3 separate regions of the Homo sapiens genome follow, and all the other regions are linked to region 1. Evidence: promoter capture Hi-C in human tissues and cell types (Jung and others, 2019). All regions are on one chromosome and are shown on one strand. Each heading gives the region's core, a stretch centred on a gene start or on the middle of the fragment in contact. The rest is flanking DNA. Distances are from core to core; before and after follow the strand shown.

Region 1 (2,801 bases), core at 172-2,671:
ATTGCATCTGGATAAAAATTTCAGGCAAAACGATATAGAAAACTACTGCCTAACAAGGAGTTAACACCTTACATCTTTTATGTTGTTGTTGTTGCTGTCGCAAAGTATGGTTCATGTTAGCTTTGGTAAAAGATGGTAATTTGAAGTGAAAGTACTGAAAAAAACAAGCAAGGATGAAATGTCAATGTATCCATTTAGAGAAATCTAATAACCACTTTGCACTATGCCAAATTACTTTCCCCTCAGCTAACAGGGGGCATTTGGGTCTTCCTGACTCTATTTACTGGTGAGGAAAGTGAGTTAATGAAATCCATAGATGATCCAAGCCCAAGAAATGCTGGCATATCAGCTGGGAGGGAAAAAAGCGATATACTGGGCCATCAGAAAGTTGGGCATTTGGGCAAAAGGAACAAAACAAGATTCAACCTGGAAAAATGGAAGGTGGTGAAATTAATCCGTATTATTAATATGCATTAGGGAGAGTAGACCACAAAAGGAAGGAAGACTAGAGACAAGTTTATGATTTTATGCAGTAAATCAAAAGTTAAATCTGAGGGAAGGACCTACAGACTGGGGCTGGAAGGAGGCTGAGGGCTTTGTGGGAGTGCAGCTGCCCATGAGGACTCCTTTCCTGACCCCCTCCCTTCCTTGTCAGGATCAGAAAGTCAAAGAAGGTGAAGAGGCTAACAACAGTGATTTACAAAGACAGCAAGGAGGAACTAAGTCTGTATGGGCCGAATCTGGGCCTCTGAGCTGGAGCAACAGGACCCAGACAACCATCTCAGGAAATGAGTGAATGAAAAGGGGCGGGGGGGTCGGTGAATTATTTAGCCCTAGAACAACGCTGCCTAGACCGGGGGAGGCCAGGGAGAAGAAAATCTCCGAAAAGGAATTTTGACAGTGAGAACGCCAGTTAAGATACAGCACTCCAGGCCCCCTGATGTCCCTTGTTTGATGTCAATAAAGACCCAAGAGGATTATGCATCCACAAGCCTTGCGTATTCGCAGACATCAAAAAAGTCTGGACTTGGGGCCGGTAGGCGGGGGCAGGGTCACGTCCAGGCGACTTGGGTCAGCTCAGGTGCTCGTCTGAAGCATAGAGCTGGAGTGAGCGGGGGCGAGACTTGCTGCTAGGATAATTTTTTTTTTTTAAGTTAGGGAAATTTAAGCAGTAGTAATAGCGACAGGGAGGGGGCTCTCTCTCGGGCCAGGAATGTGGGGGCGGCCTGAGGAGGAGCGGGGCCCCGCGCAGGAGGCGCCGGCGGGTGGGGTCGGGGGACCAGGGAGCCGGGGCCGAGGGCGGGAAGGGGCCGGGCCGGCGCTGGGGGCGGGCCCAGGCGCGGTGGCGGTGGCCGGGGCTGCGGCGCGGGGGGCGGGGCGGTCGGGCCCGGGACACCCCCTCCCGGTCCCCTGGCGGGGCAGCGTCGGCTCTGGCAGCACTGGAGGCGGCGGCGGCCCGAGGGCGACTTGCGGGGCGCGCAGGCCGCCGTGCACCCGGGACGCTTCCCCCTCGGGGACCCTCCGCGGGCTTCTCCGCCGCGCCGTCCGGCGGGAGCCGGCGGGACCCCGGGCGAGCGGCGCGGGCGGCACCATGAGGCGGCAGTGGGGCGCGCTGCTGCTTGGCGCCCTGCTCTGCGCACACGGTAAGCGGCGCCCGCCGGGAAAGTTTGTCCCTGGGTCCGGCCGCTGCAGGACTCGCCTCCCGGGACCTGGACGGCGCGGGCCGGGGCCTGAGACCCCTCGCCCTCGCTCCTAGCCGTGGCCCTGGGGCTGCGTGCAGGGGAGAGGACCCGGAGCGGCCCCGGCTCCAGCAGTCCGAGCGGGGGCATCAGCGGAGGCGCTTCCGCGGGTTCGGGTCTGGGCCGGGGCGCGGGTCTGGGCCGGGGCGCGGGTAAGGTCCGGGGCGTTCGTTCGCTCGCCCTCCCTCGCTGCTCTTTCAAGAGCGGGGGCTGCTTCCCTTTCAGGTTAGGTCGGGGGCTCTGTGTCCTTGGTGCGAATGAATGCGTGCGAAGAAAGGGAGGCGGGTGAGGAGGGTCGCTAAACCCATAAATTGTAAATAGCCCTCCTTCCTGGGGCTGGGGGCTCGGGCGGGTTGCGGAGAGAGGCCCCGGTAGAATCTGGTACTTGGGCACCGGGATTCCTCTACTCGGAGAACGATTCCCGGACTCCAGGTCTTGCTCCCACCAAGGGGCTCTGGGGCACTGTTTGCGGGCAGCATCTCCCCTCGGCGGTGTTTCGGGGTCCCTCTCTTGGCTGCGGCCAGTCAGCTTCCAGCCCTGGATCGTCCTAAAGGGAGGTGGTTGGAAAGGGGGCTGAGGAGGAATATAGGGAAGAAACTGCTGGAAGGCTCCCGCAGATCTGCCCTGGCTGGGGTAGGGGGGCAGGGGGCCGGTAACCCTGAACCCCAGAAGGCAGCCGCCGGGCCCTCGCGGCAGGGTCCCAGCCCTCGGGGGAGCTGGACGGCTGCAGCAGGACTCCTTGGTGCCCGTACCCCCTGTTGTGTGGGACTAGGGCTCCGATGGAATCTGCTTCTCCGCGGGCTCTTAACGACCCTGGGTGCACCCCGTGATTGAGCAGCTTTCCCTAGTTTGTGCCCAGAGATCAAAGAACTTTGATCTTTGAACCCCAGCCCTATTCACCCATCGCTATTCATCGTGGCGGGAGTTCCGAGTCTCCCCATTTGCCTCGCAGCCCCGATGAAGGGAGCTGGGGCTCAGAATGGAGGGGTCTGGAGACCCTGCCTGGTCTTTTACCGGTTCTTTCTTTCACGTAGGACAGCTCGTGTGGAAAAAGTCAGTGCA
Region 2 (3,225 bases), core at 41-2,540, 430 kb before region 1:
TCCTCAACCCCAGAGGGCTCACTGCAGCCCAACCCTGCAGCTCCCTAGTCCTACTGCAGGGCCACAAGAGAAGGCAAAATGGTGTTGTGTCTTCATTCTTCTATTTTTATTTTTTTTTTTTTGAGACAGGGTCTTACTTTGTTGCCCAGGCTGGAGTGCAGTGGCACGAACATGGCTCACTGCAGCCCTGACCCCCCGGGCTCAAGTGATTCTCCTGCCTCAGCCTCCCGAGCATCTGGGACTACAGGTGTGCGTCACATGCCTGACTGATTTTTGTATTTTTTGTACAGATGGGGTTTCATCATGTTGCCCAGGCTGGTCTCGAACTCCTGAGCTCAAGTGATCTGCCCGCCTCAGCCTCCCAAAGTGCTGGGATTACAGGTGTGAGCCACTTCGCCCAGCCCATTTTTATTTTTTTATTATTATTCTTTGAGATATTAATAATAAAAAATAATAATAAATAATATTTTTATTATTATTATCACTCTGTCACCCAGGCTGCAGTGCAGTGGTGCGATTTTGGCTCACTGCAGCCCGGAACTCCTTGGACTCAAGCGATCCTCCCACCTCAGCCTCCTGGGTAGCTGATACTACAGGTCCACACCACCACACCTGGCTAATTTGTGTGTGTGTGTGTATTTATTTTATTTTTTATTTTTTTAGTAGAGATGGGGTTTTGCCATGTTGCCCAGGCTGGTCTCAAACTCCTGGCCTCAAATAATCTGCCTGCCTCGGCCTCCCAAAGTGCTGGGATTACAGATGAGCCACCACACCCGGCCTAACATTTTTAAAATTATAAACCCACTTCATACGTGTGACAATCCTGTGCAGTGGGTGCTGCTTTCACCCACCCCGCTTTACAGATGAGGAAACCAGGTGCTTTGAGATTAAAGAGATGGCAGTGCTAGGACTCAGAGACACCCTGGCCCCAGGGTCTGTGGACATGACCACTGCCTGAACTGCCTGCGAGGATGCTCCTGACCCGTTAGCCTTAGGGTTATGGGCCCAGCATGCTCCCACCGTACAATTTGCTGTAAGAGGGACACACACGGGGCTTGGAGTACCCCTGAGGCTTGCCAAAGGTTGGGGAGGCAGAATTGTGCTGCGGGGGGTGAGGGGGGAAGGGACAGGAGCCAGCCAGGGACAATGTGGCCCTACCTTCTCCCTGGAGAGACCTCAGCTCTCTGGAATTCATCTATATTTAGCAGGTGGCTGGACAGGAGGCAGATAAGCAGAGCCTGGGGAGGGGGGAGGTCCCCATATATAGTGGGAAGGACAGGACCCCACTCAGTCCCTCTTTGGGTGACCTGTGCCTGCTTCGTGCCTGGTGTGACGTCTCTCAGGATGCCTGAGCCGGGGAAGAAGCCAGGTAGCTTTAGGACTGGGGTTGGGTCTAAGTGTGGGAGCAGGGGGGTGTCTACAATTGGGGAGCAGGGCTAGGAGGGAGTTCTTGAGGGGGTTGACGAGGACGTGGCCTCTGAGCCCCAGGACAGGGGCAGCCAGTCCTCCAGGGTCCTTTTTTGATTCTCGGTTTCTTTTTCCCATCCCTCTGATGAGAGGTGAAGGTAAACCCAAGGTCAGGGACGCAGAGAGGGGACACAGCCAAGACAGGAAGCACCCGGGGTCAACCCATTCTGAGAATGCAAAGGGACCCCTTCCCTGTCCCATTGCCTTCACCTTCCACAGCAAGGTTCCCCGCGGACAGAGCCCACGTTTAGTATGGAGCTGAGCCAGGCTCACGGCATGCCTTCAGACCAGTCTCTACCCACTATGGGTCTCAGTCTCCCAACCTGGGGTGCCGGGGGTGGTGGTGGCATTGGGTTGGTTCCTCCTGGCTGTGACATTATCTGCTTCATGAGCCTGTACGGTGTGGCCCCCATGTTGAGGGTGACACAGCCCCTCTTCTCTGAGAGAGGACAGTCAGGAGCCCCTGAACCCAGGCCAAGGGCAGGGAAAATCACAGCCCAGGGACCTGGGCCTGGGCTGTGCCCTTATGAAGGTTGTCCAGGGCAGAGATCCAGGTCCCCATCCCCCAGCGCCCTCCCAGGCCAGCTTTATCTCAGTTGCTGATACCCAGCCTGAGGTCCTTGGAGGACAAATTTGGCCACATTCCAAGTAGGCAGACTTCCCCGCCCCCTGCCAAGGGCCCGAAATGGTTGGGGGAAAGGGAGCTGGGTTCATCACGGGTGTCTCCAAGCAGGGAAAGTGGACACATGCAGAAAAAGTCTTGTTGGGAGGTCAGGACCACAGCCCTGGCTCTCCCGACTGCTAGCTGTGTGATCTTGGAGGAGCCGCTTAGCTTCTCTGAGCCTCAGTGTCCTCCTCTGAGAAATGAACAGAATAACTGCAACTACCTCAGAGAACTGGTAGAGTATTACGTGAGGGGATGCATAGAAAGTGCTAGCACAGTATTTACTGAGAGGGGCTGCAGGGGCGGGGTGCACGCTCCAACCAGGGGCCGCTGTAGCCTCCACCTGGCCCTTCAGTCTCAGCTTTTAGCAAGAAGCCACGGTCAGTGGAAGTGGCCGCAGGCAGCCCTGCCGTGTTCGAGGCCGAGACAGAGCGGGCAGGAGTGAAGGTGCGCTGGCAGCGCGGAGGCAGTGACATCAGCGCCAGCAACAAGTACGGCCTGGCCACAGAGGGCACACGGCATACGCTGACAGTGCGGGAAGTGGGCCCTGCCGACCAGGGATCTTACGCAGTCATTGCTGGCTCCTCCAAGGTCAAGTTCGACCTCAAGGTCATAGAGGCAGGTAAGATCCTGATCAGCCTTCCCTGAGGTTTGGGCTGCTGGGGGAGGGGCAGCCCAGCGACTCTCCATCCATCCAGGGAACAGGAGGTGCTTTCACACTTTCTTGCCTTTGCTGTGGCTGTGCCCCCCGCCAGGAACGCCCTTTCCCCCTTTTCTGCACATGACCTCTCTGAGTACCCCCATGTGCCATCCTGGCTTGTTCCAGCCATGGGGTAGGTGGGAGAGATGAACAAGACACAACCCCACTCTCCCCCTGCAGACCTCCCTGGGGAGATGACCCTGCACAGACGGCCGGGAAGCCCCAGGAGCTGTGGATGAGGGGAGTGCAGCCCAGTCTGAGGGGCTGCTCTAAGGCTGGGGCAGAGCAGGGATGGACCTGGAGCTGTTCAGGGCAGATGCAGAGGACATGGGAACTGATGGCCTGGGACGGGGAGGAGAATGTGAGAGGCAGGCTGGCTCTCCAGCTCAGCATG
Region 3 (2,825 bases), core at 42-2,541, 460 kb before region 1:
AATTGGAGGACATTATCATATGCGAAACAACGCAGAAACAGAAAGTCAAATACTGCCTGTTCTCATGGGGCTCCTGGAAACCGAAGCTGATAGGTGAATGGATGGATAGGTGGATGAATAGATGGGTGGAATGGTAGGTGGGTGGATTGGTAGATGGGTGGATGAGTGGACTGGTGGATGGATGGATGAATGAATGAAGGGGTAGGTGGATGATGGATGGGTTGATGGACAGATGAGTGGATGGGTAGATGGGTGGATGAGTGGATGGGTGGATGGATGGACAGGTGGATGAATGGATGAGCAGATTCATAGATGGATAAACAGATGGAATTGTGGACTGATGGACTGATAGCAGGTGGACGGGCTGATTAATGGACATATAGATGGTTAGATAGACAAGTAGATAAACAGATGGGTGGGTGGATGAATTGACTGACAGATGAATGAACAAACAAACGGACAGTTGGATAAATGGACACATAAGTGAATGCATGGTGGGCTTGATGAATGGATAGCTGGATGGACAAATAGACAGACAAATAGATGCATGGGAAAACAGATGAATGGTGGATAGGCAAGAAAGGTTTGTAAACCAGGAGGGTTAGATTGATATTCAGGCATTGCCAAGGGATGGGGAAACTGAGAAACCTGGGCTGGAAACAGAGCCCTAGGGATTTGAATGTGGTAATCAAGAAGCTGGGAGGGGAGGGTATAAGAACCCAGGACCCTCTTCTGGTGGTAGGGAAGCCCATGTGAACAGATTCAGAGGGAAGGAAGAAAGCAGCACTATGCTGAAGACCCTACACCTGAGCCCAGCCTCAGCCTAGGGATAGCCTAGGCAGTGGGGGTGCAGGGCCACAGGAAGAGCCAGGCCTGATAGCCTGCTAGATCAGAGCCCTCACCCAGGAAGGCTGACTCCAGAAAGTGGAGGCCCCAAGAGGCCACCCCTTCCAGCTCTGACCCCAATGAGGTGACTGTTGGCTACATAGGGATCTCAAAAGAAGCAGGCATTTGTTGGGTTAGAGCAAAAGCCTCCCAGTGGTGTGGCAGAGCTACACGTTCTCCCTCCCATCCTCCCTCCCCAGCTTAGCCCCCAAAGTCATCCCTCTCAGTCCCAGCTTCCTCTGGGCAGGGGGCCTGGACCCCATGGCTTCCCAGGCCAGCCCTTTGAGCACCACCTGCCCCAGCCGGCCAGAGACTTCCTGTATGTAGCGCAAGAGATTTATGCAAACGGGTTGGGGCGGTGATGTCACCCCAAGGGGACTATCTCCCAGCGGCAGGCCCTTCGATAAAATCAGGAACTTGTGCTGGCCCTGCAATGTCAAGGGAGGGGGCTCACCCAGGGCTCCTGTAGCTCAGGGGGCAGGCCTGAGCCCTGCACCCGCCCCACGACCGTCCAGCCCCTGACGGGGCACCCCATCCTGAGGGGCTCTGCATTGGCCCCCACCGAGGCAGGGGATCTGACCGACTCGGAGCCCGGCTGGATGTTACAGGCGTGCAAAATGGAAGGGTTTCCCCTCGTCCCCCCTGTGAGTACCGGGACTCCTCCACCAGCCCAACCCGTGGCCCTCGGACGCCTGCCTGCCTGCCCACGAACCCGCCAGCCCACCCACTGCCCTCCTGGCTTGCTATCAGTGGGAAGTCAGGGTTTCCTCCCTGGAACTCCTGGCCTGAGACCCAGCGAGGGGGCCATTGGCTTCCTCGGAGCATGCCCTGGCGGGCTGAGGCCAGGCCCACGGTGGGGCTGTGATCGGTGGGGCCTGAACAGTTATTTATAGACAGGGCTCGGGTGGCAGGCGGAGGCCGGGGCTCCTGGGGAGGGTGCTGGGCTGAGGATGGTGAAGGCGGTGGTAGAGAGGTAGAGGAGGGAGATGGGGGGACTGGCTTGGGGGAGGCCGGTCCCCTGGATGGGAAGGGGTTGAAGGCAGGAGGCAATGGGCAGAAGTCTTGGCCCATGGCCTTGGGGCTCCTGGAAACCAAAGCTGATGGAACTCTGGGTCCCCAACGCCCAGTCTGGGGCCTGGCACAGAGGACATGATTGTTGACCAAAGGGTCAGGGCCATGGGCCCACAGGGGTACCCACAGGAGACAGGGACTGGTGCTGGAAAGGAGCCAGGAGTGGAGCTGAGACAGTGCAGTTAGGGCTGGCCCCAGGGCTGGAGTTCAGGGAGAGGCGCGGCAGGGGACAGGGCTGGGACAAGGCCAGGACTGAGATTGGGGCTGGGTGGGACCTGGGGTGAGCATGTGATAAGTGAGAATGGGGGCTGAGGCTGGGACAAGGACAGGGACTGGGTCTTGGGGGTGAAGAAGTGGGAGCCCCAGGGGACCCCGAGAAGAGAAGGGCAGATCGCCACTGCTCCTCACTCTCAGTGACAGTTGCAGCCTTAGGCAGGTGTCAGACCAGGGTCCCTCGGAAAGGACCCTTCTCCCTTTTCCCACCCCATGACCTCTCAGGAGTGAGGAGGCTTGAGGGGAGCCGGGAAGGGCTTGGCAGGCTGCCCACCTGAATCCACTTTCCTGGTCTAGAGGCAGCTCCCTTCCCCCACTATGCCCTGGCTCAGAGCCACCCCAGGAGGCTGGGAGGCACCCCAGGCCTGACATCACACCAACCCGACCAGAGCCGGGCTGACATCCTGCAGCGAGGCTGTACTACCTGGAAACCCAGAGGGGCAGGCTCAGTGCTGGGCTCCTGGCCTCCTCACTTGGCCAGCCACAGGCAGGACCAGGCAGGACCAGCCAGCCTGCTGTGGCATCCACACCGACACCCCTTCCCACCTGGGAACACGAAGTGGGCGGCCCAGGCAGAGGGTGACGGAGGTTGTCTC

What was found. Contacts are between HindIII fragments. The study calls those that stand out against the background at their distance.
Region 2: a contact is called between the fragment with the promoter of MYBPC3 here and the fragment with the promoter of LRP4 in region 1, in 1 of the 25 tissues and cell types used here (small bowel).
Region 3: a contact is called between the fragment with the promoter of SPI1 here and the fragment with the promoter of LRP4 in region 1, in 1 of the 25 tissues and cell types used here (IMR-90 fibroblasts).

The regions. Positions count from the first base shown.
Region 1 is chr11:46,917,170-46,919,970 of GRCh38, reverse strand. It overlaps LRP4 (LDL receptor related protein 4), which reads left to right and starts at 1,421. Exons shown (of 38, transcript NM_002334.4): 1 at 1,421-1,643. The coding sequence starts at 1,592. RefSeq lists enhancers at 692-1,196, 2,360-2,801 and silencers at 1,257-1,486, 1,497-1,676, 1,687-1,856. The HindIII fragment of the contact is 14,675 bases long and covers 1-2,801 here.
Region 2 is chr11:47,350,767-47,353,991 of GRCh38, reverse strand. MYBPC3 (myosin binding protein C3) reads left to right here and starts at 1,290. Exons shown (of 35, transcript NM_000256.3): 1 at 1,290-1,369; 2 at 2,487-2,753. The coding sequence starts at 1,345. RefSeq lists enhancers at 1,666-2,646, 2,647-3,225. The HindIII fragment of the contact is 22,693 bases long and covers 1-3,225 here.
Region 3 is chr11:47,377,013-47,379,837 of GRCh38, reverse strand. SPI1 (Spi-1 proto-oncogene) reads left to right here and starts at 1,291. Exons shown (of 5, transcript NM_003120.3): 1 at 1,291-1,529. The coding sequence starts at 1,485. RefSeq lists enhancers at 1,128-1,197, 693-1,644, 1,818-1,867, 2,538-2,737. The HindIII fragment of the contact is 21,953 bases long and covers 1-2,825 here.